Linked DNA regions of Homo sapiens: region 2 is linked to region 1. The links are contacts of gene promoters, found by promoter capture Hi-C in human tissues and cell types (Jung and others, 2019). All regions are on one chromosome and are shown on one strand. Each heading gives the region's core, a stretch centred on a gene start or on the middle of the fragment in contact. The rest is flanking DNA. Distances are from core to core; before and after follow the strand shown.

The links. Contacts are between HindIII fragments. The study calls those that stand out against the background at their distance.
Region 2: a fragment that was not itself captured here is called in contact with the fragment with the promoter of PRR15 in region 1 in 1 of the 25 tissues and cell types used here (pancreas).

What each region holds. Positions count from the first base shown.
Region 1 is chr7:29,561,638-29,566,607 of GRCh38, reverse strand. It overlaps PRR15 (proline rich 15), which reads right to left and starts at 2,773. Exons shown (of 2, transcript NM_175887.3): 1 at 2,231-2,773; 2 at 1-423. The coding sequence starts at 278. PRR15-DT (PRR15 divergent transcript) reads left to right here and starts at 2,917. Exons shown (of 2, transcript NR_183550.1): 1 at 2,917-3,220. RefSeq lists an enhancer at 287-1,150. The HindIII fragment of the contact is 8,966 bases long and covers 1,221-4,970 here.
Region 2 is chr7:29,115,247-29,120,660 of GRCh38, reverse strand. The region is part of intron 2 of CPVL (carboxypeptidase vitellogenic like); the gene reads left to right. Among named protein-coding and RNA genes, the nearest start is that of CPVL, 29 kb to the left of the region's middle. The HindIII fragment of the contact is 4,908 bases long and covers 1-4,615 here.

The sequences.
Region 1 (4,970 bases), core at 1,524-4,023:
CGCGAGATCTTCAAATTGCGGCGGCTGCTGCCGGATTTGTCCCCGTATAACTTGTCTGGTTTGGGGGGCTCGCCGGCGCCCCCGAGGAGATTGGGGTGCTGGTTCTCCCGGGAGCTGCTGGTCCAGTCCGGGCTGGGCGGCGCAGGTGGCGTGGGCTCCCCGGGAGCGGGCTGGGCGGGAGGCGGCACCCCCACTGCGGCTTCCTTGCTTTTCTTTCTGCTGTTGGTGAGCGATTTCCACCAGGGGCCGGAGCTGCCAGCATCGCCGCTGTCGGCCATGGCCGGAGGGCCTAGGGGCTCCCGGCACCCAGATGGAAGGGCCAAAGCGGCCCCTTTCTCCACGTGGTCTCCGGCCGTTCACTCCACCCCTTCCCCGGCTTGCCACACGTGGGCTGCGGGGTGGATGCTGAGGCAGCGGCCTGTGCTGGGGAAGAAAACAAAACTTGGTTACTGGGTTGGTTGAAGTCACGTGCCCCCCCCAGTCCCCTTTCCTCCCTTATGCTGTCTGGCACCGGATCGGCCAGGGTCGGAGCGACCCAATCCCGTAGCTACGTAGCCCACATTAGCATTAGACGCCACTGCGCCCCATAGGGTGCTGGCGGAAGTGTCTTCCAGGGCACCATCACCTGGTCTCTAGGCTGAGCCTTGAACTCTTTGGCTTCAACCTTTGCCTTTCCTTCAGGGGAAGTGCAGTGCAGTGGTCAGCGTGCCCGGGGGACCCAAGGGACGTTCCCACCCCTCTGAATCAACCCGTCTCTAGAGGGAAAATGACCGCCCTGTCCACACTGCTTGACTGTAGATGGACGCCAAAAGGTGACCCATCCGACCCAGGGCGGCCTCCCTTTGGATAAGCACCTGGGAGGAGGGCGCTGGGAACCAAGTGCATCCTCTCTACAGGTGAACGGTATTAATTAGTCCATGGTCAAACAGTCACGAAATTTCCCTCCAAGATTTGCCCCCATCGACTTTCGTCCCAGGAGCCTTTTCGATGAGATACTTAGGAGAATTTATATCCCAGTAGGAGAGAAGGACAAGCTTATGATATTTGTTTTGGTTCTTTTAAATTCTACTTTTGACCACTTCTGCCTTGTGACTTTCAAAGAAGCATGTCTAGACTTAACTTCCCTTGAAAACCGCCATCCTAATTCTTCCTTTTACTCCCCAGAGCCCAATCTTGCGTCTGTTTGAAGTCACCCCCGGCTGACGGTTGAGATGAAGCCAAGTATCAAATGGCCTCTTCCCTTAGTTTTGTATTAAAATATGCACCGAGTCTGTACGACGCAACTCAACTCTGGAGAATTTCAGTTACAAAGTAAAGGCTTCTCTTCTTTTCCTTGTGCAATTCCCTCCTCCCAAGGAGAAAGAACGCAACAAGGAACTCCGAAACAATGTGCTTCTTCCCCAAGCTTCTAAGACCCCCCCTCTGCAGAGCGAAAGGCCGCTTCTGAGCACTTAGGTGCGGGTACAGCAAGCGAGACTCCCAGCCCACTTTCTGTGCGGGGTCTCTTGGGCGCTGCCACCAGCAACGGCAGGATTCGCCTGCGCCGCGGCTCACTTCCAGGTTTCCGCTCGGCTCCTTCCCAGCCCACGCGCCGGGCGCTCCTGGGATTGGCGATCGCGCTGGAGAGGGAAACTTCGGCGGTGTTTGTTGTAGGAGGTTCTCCTCCCGGAACCGCCAGGGAGAGGAAGTCTGATCGCCTACGGGAGGCGGCGGGGCGGCCTCGGCTGCGCCCCGAAACCGCAACACCGGCTCCTCCCCAGGATGCCCTGAGGACACACTCGGGCAGCGACTTGAAAACAATACAAGAAAAAACGGCCAAAAGTTCTTTCGGTACAAAAGGCACCCACGCCCTCAGGCACAATTAGCAACTGCGTCTGCAAACATCCCATTCCCTCCTACTTTGCAGATCGGAAAAGCAACCCGTACCCCCAAGTCATTTACTAACAGTGGTGGTAAGGTGTCCTGATGCTGCTTCCTCTCCTCTAACCTACATTTTCTTCTTCACAATCATCAACTTTGTGAGCACGGAAGGGCTTTGTACGAATTGCGCAAGGAAAAGATGGCAAATTACTCAAAAGTACAGAAAACGGAGTCCTGGAGCGTCCGTGGTTTTCAGCCTCTCTTAGGGCTCCGGGAGGCGGGTACCTGGGAGGTACCAGGCAGCACCCCAGGGTGACCCCCGGGGCCAGGCTCTGTCTCGGCGGACGCCGAACCACCCCCAGTCGCTCACCTGCTCGGGCTTAACAGGACCCGGAGGCCTCGCGCGGTGAACGCGGCCGAGAGCACGAAGGGGGCGCGCTCGGGTCAACCTGGAAGCCGGGGCTCGAGTCCCTGGGCGCGGACTTGGAGAGATCAGGCTTCTGGAAAGTGTACAGGTCGGAATTCCCGCAGCCCAGCTAAATCAAGTGCTGCTGCTGGTCTCCTCTGGCACCTCCAATTGCTGCGCGCTGCGGCGGAAGCCCGGGGCTCGCAGCGCAGTCTGTTCTGGTCGGAGGGGGCGGCGGCGAGGGGCCGCCAGACTCGCTGCCCGGGTGGAAGGTCCAGGGCGGCTTTCCGGGCTAGTAGTGTTTCATTCGCCGGCGCGTCCCTCTTCCCTGCTAGCACCGCCCGGGAGCCGGCTGAGAGATGGGACCCTGGCTGTTCACTCCGGCGCATCGAACTTGCCTACGCGTCCGTAGGAACGCAAAAAAGACATCTGCCCACCTGCTGGTTATTTGCCAAGTGATTCGGGAAACCAGAACCCTGGGGCAGCTGGGGGAGAAAAGAAAATAACCCAGGAGGCGGTCACCGCTGCCACAGGTGCAGGTAGGAACTTCGCGTTCCCACCCTCCAGGGGAGGAGATTGGATCAGGCGCCAGCCTTGAGGTGTCTGATTGGAGAAAAGCTGTGCAGTGCCGCTCCCCCGACCGACTCCTTGAGAAGAAACGGCGGAGACCTGAGACCCGGAGGCTGAGGCTGTAGGTGGGCTCCGCTGGGTAAAAGTTGCCGCAGCAGCTGTCCCTTGGCCCCATCGCGATTTATTTTTCCCCCTTGCTTTCCGGGTCCCGGGATCCCAAGTTTGTAACTAACGGGAGCGAATCCACACCCGAGCAAAATGTTTGCGAGTTTCAGGCGCCCTTAGTTGAAAGGCTGTAATTAACAAGTCCGCTGTTTGCCAGCCAGGCGCCGTTGCAGGCGCTTTCTGTGGATTGTCATTTATTTCTCACAGCAACCCTAGGAGGTAGGTATTGTTATTATTATTATTCTCACTCGACAGGCGAGGAAACCCTAGCACGGGAAAATGGTTGCTCAGGTTTGCCTGTCTGGTACGTGGCAGAGCAGGGTTGGAACCCAGGGGGCCTGACTCTAGCTTCTACGGTCTTAACCACCACAACCTGCCAGTCTGAGACTCTTAACACGACTCAGTGAGGATGTGAATTTCCTTCTTTCAGGCCTGGAAGTCCATGGACAGCCACCCAACGAGGGCAGTGTAAATCCAGCCCTGAGCCACTGCAGGAAGTGAACCGGGGATTGCACTCCTGGTCACATAAGAGTACTTTTTTTTTTTTTTTTTTTTTGAGACGGAGTCTCGCTCAGTCGCCGAGGCTGGACTGCAGTGGCGCGATCTCGGCTCACGGCAAGCTCCGCCTCCCGGGTTCACGCCATTCTCCTGCCTCAGCCTCCCGAGTAGCTGGGACTACAGGCGCCCGCCACTGCGCCCGGCTAATTTTTTGTATTTTCAGTAGAGACGGGGTTCCCCGTGTTAGCCAGGATAGTCTCGATCTCCTGACCTCGTGATACGCCCGTCTCGGCCTCCCTCCCAAAGTGCTGGGATTACAGGCGTGAGCCACAGCGCCCGGCCAAGAGTACTTTTTATTCATTTGACATAAAGATATTGGCACAGGGCATTTTCACTAATGAAGGCAGAGGTGCAGCTTGCTTCATCTTCCAGGATGCTCTTGTTTCAAAAAACGATTTTGATGTTCCTTGAGCTCATATGCAAGCATAACTCCCCTGAAGGACTGGGTGTGGAGCAACTGAGCATCTCTGTTGTGAAAACTGTTTGCAGTATAAAAGCAGTGAAAGACAGCCGGGCAAGATGGCTCAAGCCTGTAACCCTAGCGCTTTGGAGGCCGAGGCGGGTGGATCACATGAGACCAGGAGTTTGAGACCAGCCTGGCCAACATGACAAAACCTTGTCTCTACTTAAAAATAATAATAAAAAACAAGGTGGGTGTAGTGGTGCACGCCTGTATTCCCAGCTATTGGGGAGGCTGAGGCACAAGAATCATTTGAACCTGGGAGGTGGAGGTGGCAGTGAGCTGAGATCCGGCCACTGCACTCCAGCCTGGGTGACAGAGTGAGACTCTGTCTGTAAAAAAAAAAAAAAAAAAAAAAAGTAGTGAAAGACATACTGCCTAACTCAAATAATTTGCAATATAGAATTAGTAGAAAAAATTTTTAGAGAGTATTTCAATTTGTGAAAGATAAAAATATGAATATATGATTTACTTTTTAGTTTGGGATTCTTTGAATTTCTATGATATGCACAGCACAGGGTATTTGGAAGTCATGCATTTTTATATATTTCTCGGGATTACTTTTAGAGCATAAACTTTCAATCACAGAAGCAGGATTGAACAAAGGCAGGCCACCAACTTTGAGGGGAGAATGGGATAATTCATCATAGTGCCATTACTTTACAGATGAAATTGAATCATGGAAGAATGCCTTTATCTGAGGAGTCATCACCACTAGGGAGCTATGGAGGTGGGTTTTTACGTTGTTGGTTGAGCATATGGGTGAAAATAAAAAATTCAGGAAAAGAAAATAAGTTCTGCCAACTGGCTCCTCAAGTGTGATTTTAACAAAATGGTCAACATTTTACTAATAAGCAAACCTCTACTAACTGCTGAAATTAACAAAAAAAAAAGATTATTTTGCATGCCCTTTCTCATTTATATTCAGCAACTTTGAACTTAATAACAACA
Region 2 (5,414 bases), core at 912-3,411, 450 kb after region 1:
TTAGTAGAGAGGGGTTTCACCATGTTGGCCAGGATGGTCTCGATCTCTTGACCTCGAGATTCACCCACCTCGGCCTCCCAAAGTGCTGGGATTACAGCTGTGAGCCACTGCACCTGGCCAATAGTTTTTCTTAAAACAAGTAACCCATAGGATGCAAAATATATTTCAGTATTTTTACTCAGTTGTTTTATTTCAAATATATATATATATATTTTGTTTGTTTGTTTGTTTGTTTGTTTGAGACAGAGTCTTGCTCTGTTGCCCAGGCTGGAGTGCGGTGGCGCAATCTCTGCTTACTGCAACCTCTGCCTCCTGGGCTCAAGTGATTCTCCTGCCTCAGCCTCCTGAGTAGCTGGGATTACAGGTGCCCACCACCATGCCTAGCTAATTTTTGTATTTTTAGTAGAGATGGGGTTTCACCATGTTGGCCAGGCTAGTTTTGAACTCCTAACCTTTGGTGATCCACCCTCCTCAGCCTTCAAAAGTGCTGGGATTATAGGCATGAGCCACCGCACCCAGCCTATGTCAAATATTAATGACTTGATGTCATATGTTGTCTGAGTTTTTAGCTAAAATGAGAATTAGCCGGGGTTGAATTACCTGCATGGTTGAGTTGCAGCATTTTATTTATAAGACTAGTAGAGTGCCTGTCCCCCAGTGGTCACTTAATGCTAATACTATCCTTAAAACTTACTATGAGTCAATCACTGGTTCCAAGCTTTCTGCATGAACTTATTTAAACATCTCAACATCCCGGGGAGGTGGACCCATTTTACACATGTGAAACCAAGGCAGAAAGAGATTGAGCTACTAGCCAGAGTTCATGCAGATATCAGCTGGTGTGTAGGCTTCATACTCAGCCTCACTGCAGCCTCCCTGCTGTGCCCCGTTATCCAGCAAGTCTGGGCCTTAGTTTTCTCATTAAGATAAGATGGAGCTTTAACAACTTACCCAACTTACAGAGATGTTATGAAAATCCAATGAGATAAGGCACGTGAAAATCTTTTGTACTCTATAAGTTGTTCTCCAAATATGAGTGTTTGCAATTGGCTTTATTTAGAGATTGTGGGTTTTTCTATTGTTATTACCAATAGGAAAAAAGGTATCACTTAGTGTTATCAGAGGCTAAAATTTATGACCTGCATCTGCTCTTTTTTTTTTTTTTTTTTTTTTTTGAGACAGAATCTTGCTCTGTTGCCAGGCTGGAGTGCAGTGGTGCAGCCTCGGCTCACTGCGCTCTGCACCTCCTGCGTTCAAGCGATTCTCCTGCCTCAGCCTCCTGAGTAGCTGGAACTACAGGCATGTGCTACCACGCCCGGCTAATTTTTATATTTTTAGTAGAGATGGGATTTTGCCTTGTTGGCCAAGCTTGTCTCAAACTCCTGACCTCAAGTCATCTGCCTGCCTTGGCCTCCCAAAGTGCTGGGATTATAGGCGTGAGCCACTGCCCCCGGCCCTGTATCTGCTCTTAATGCTTCTTTGCGCTTAATCACTGTGCGAGTAAATGATTTCAACTTTCTGGACTTCAGTAGGTTCCTAAGCTATAAAACAGTAGACAGGTAGCTATTCTGAGGAGCTGTTTGCAAAGAGCAGCAGAAAAATGGGGTAGTGGCTGGAGGGAGCACTGGGGTCCAGGAAGGGTCTTTAACAGAATAGGAGAGAATGTTTGTTTGCTGATGGAAATGATGAGTGGGGAATTGGTTTGGTTTGGGGAACCATTGTTGGAGACTGTGTTTAAGAAGGTGAGAGACAGGGATCTGGCACACAGGGGCCCCAAGGTTGTCCCTTGTCACAGGTGGGAAGGCAGAGATGGTGCCTGTGAAGCTGGCAGGTTGGCAGATGTGATGGGAATGAAGAAGAACACCGGAAATTTTAGACAAATGGTCATTTTAAAGATCAAAAGCAAATCTAAATACTCTATAAAGAAGTTTAAAATAAAGCAAGTTTTATTCGTTCAAAGTGTTCTCACAGCCAATAGGATGTCATTGTTTTTTGGTTTTCGTTTTACACGAAGACATTCTTGTATTTTAAGGGTATGTGTAAGTGCTGTTCATATGTCTTTTTCTGAAATACACATTGGCTTCAAGTTTCACCATCTCTTTTCTAAGGAAAGATGAAAAACTTTGATAATGTATTTAGTGTATTTTAAAAAGGACTGATTTTTACCTCACAAGAGAAGTCTTGGGAAGATGGCTGCCCCACCATATGGGCTGATACCATTAAGATGCTTGTGAAGAGGCAAAGTGTCGTTAAACCCTCCAAATTGGATTACATGCACGTATTTCAGCTTCCTTAACAAGTGGATTCTGATGGCTTAGATTTCTGTTCATTAACAGTAAATCAAAGCAAACCATTTAATGTAGGGATGAAAAGGAGTTAAGTAATTGTTATAACCAAATTCTACCAATCCACATATGAGGAAATTGAGACTGAAATACTTTATCCGAGTTGCCCAACGGGATGTGTGCAGTAGAGTTGGGTAGCAGAGATGGGTTTAGGACCCAAATCTTCTGACTTCTGCTCTGTGATTTGCCTACTATAATTTAGTTCTGTTTGTTTCAGAAGCTTCTAAAGTGTTCTTCTAAAGTGACCAGATGCATACACACAAAACAATTAAGGAATTAGGCAGTGCATACTAAAGTACTAAAGTATTACATTTAAAGTAAGTGCACTGGAGATTCGGAGGAGGAACCTATCCCTGTCGGTTGGCATAATCGAGGGAGAAAATACTAGAGCTGTCGTAGTTGTAAAAATAATAAGTAGCTAACATTTAGTCATTATATCCCTAGTACCTAGCATAGTACCTATACATAATAGGTATGTATAAATATGTATGGAATTTAAATTTGGGTACCAACCATGTGCCAGGCATTGTGCTTTACATCCATTAGCTCATGTAGTTCTCAGAGCAACCCTAATGAAGAATCCATAAGCATTGTTCCCATTTTACAAATGAGAACACTGAGGCCCGGAGAAATCAAATATCTTGCCTAGGGCCATAAAACTAGTAAGTGGCAGAGCTTGAATTAAAACCTATACTGGCCAACCCCAGGGCCCATGGTATGAACCACTATGCTATATGAGCAGCTCTGAATTAAACCCTATACTGGCCAACCCCAGAGCCCATGATATGAACCACTATGCTGTATGACCAGCTCTGGACTTCAGAGTGTCGGGTAAGATTTACGTAAATAGCGAAAGGTCTGTGCGTACCAAATGAGAGAAACAGCTTAAACAAAGGCATTAAGTGAAAGTGACCATGGTGTTTCTGTATCATACATCTGGTGGAACCAAGTAAAAAGAATACAGAGAAATCCATCTGAGAGACTACTGACATCTCTCCTGTTCTTGTCTTTCTTGCCTATGAGCATTTCTCAGTTATGGGTATTAGCAGCAGCCAAGAAAGATTCCAAGGGAGGTAGTTTTATCTTCCACCCTCCCATGTCAAGATTGGTAGATCTTCATCTGATGATTGACAACATTTAAAATATTAAATCTGTGTATAATATCACTTCCTGAAGTTATGTTACACAGTCAAATTCTTTGAACAGAATTTTAAGTGGCTGATTCAAAATCTGGTACATCTGGGTATTCAAATGTAGCCCTGACAACATAATTAAGGATAATTTTATTCATCCGCTTTGCTGAAAGTTCAGGAAGCTCTGGACAGATGGTCAGCTCACTCCCCTAAATCCCTTTTGTTTATCGAGTCTGTCAAAACCCTAGGAACGTGAGTCTTATTATTGCAATGGAACATTTTCGAGATAAACAGTAGCTCGCAAAAAAACAAGGGAAATTTTTAATTTTTAAATCCTCATTTAGCTGGCTTAGTTTTATGTAATTGTAATTGCATGTTTACTTTCTCTGAAGCTAGAATAAATCTTTACTCCCTGAAACAAAATGAAGTAGGAGGCACATTTTAGCTTGTTTATAAACACTGCATTTTCACACTTTAAAGACTATTTTACTGGTAGGTCCTAATTTATTGTTACTTATGATCTGATAATGTCTGTCCACACTGGTGATAACTTGAGTGTTTGTGAATCTGGCATGCATGCTGATTAGCTGGTTCAAGCCCTTTGTTGGTCACATTCCAATGTTTTTGAAAGTGTTAATATCACAAACATTGGTTGCAGCAGTAAAAAACAAGGAGGAAGTAAAATCACTTCAAAGAAAACCTTTTCCTTTTTAAAACTGTTCTAAACATTTGTATTGTGAGTCATGGTGCTGGAAAGATAGAAACTCCTCCATCTTGGGAGTTTGTTTTCCACATTCCATTAATAGAAGGATGCACAGGACATTTGAAAATATAAAAAGTCATTTTAGTTGATGACATTTTAAATTATTTTACTGGGATTTAGTTAGTGGAAATTTAAAATTTGAAACAGGGCAAAACTTTTTTTATGGGCTAGAGAAAAGTTCTAAATTTCTTAAGATCTTTTAGCAAGGTCTGCCTTAGGAGGTTTTTGTAGAAATAAGCCAATCTTGGTGCCTTGTCAGTAGGGCTTGTTTTAGTTCATTCATTTATTGACTTGTTCATCCATTCATTTGTTAACATTCATTCATTAAAAAGTATTTATTGAATGTCTTAGGTGTGTAAGTCAGCATGCCGAGTCCCAAGGTATGCAAAGTTAAATAACACAAATTCCCCACTTTCCAACCTCCTGACCTAGGAGGGAAGGTCTGAAACATACTCAAGTAAAAGGTAGTAGAGAAGCTACTTTGGCATCCTCAGGAAGGGAGGGATGAGTGAACATCTGAATCATTTGAGAGCAGTCTGTGGACCCTGTGTGGTGCTGGTCTTGGGAGAGATAGATTGATTGAATCATCCTTTCCTCTGTTCCATTCCCTCCAGCTCCTTTCTATTATATATTTTCTCTTTTTCTCATTATACTTTGACCTTTCTCATTTTTGTGTTGTCTTTCTCAAATCCTCTTCTTCCCATTTACCTCTCTGTGGTCCACATCTCACTCATTTCCAATCCACAGTTTTTACTTCTCTACTCTCCTTTTTTTTTTTGGGAGGCAGGGGGTGGTATCTGTTTGATTTTGAGAAGATTAATAGTTTTGCTAAAAATATTTCAAAAGCATTTTAAAGGCTGCCCAGCCCTGGGGGGTGATCTTTCTCTGGGCTAATTAAGAGTGGAAGTGAAGAAAGGGAGAAGAAAAACGACAGATGGCGGGAAGAGTGGGAGGGGAGGAGTGGCAAAAACCACTTTCCCCAAACACCTCCCTTTTCTTTCTCATAAGATCCTCACCTCTCTCTCTTTTTCTCTGGCTTTTTTTCTGATGGAGGAGGGATAGACCTCATTGGGAACAGAATGTGAAGACCAACAGAGGTTGCATTAAGCAATCTTCCCTGGGAGAACCAGGCTGAGCCAGAAAAAGGAAATTCTTCTAGACTTCACTTGGAGT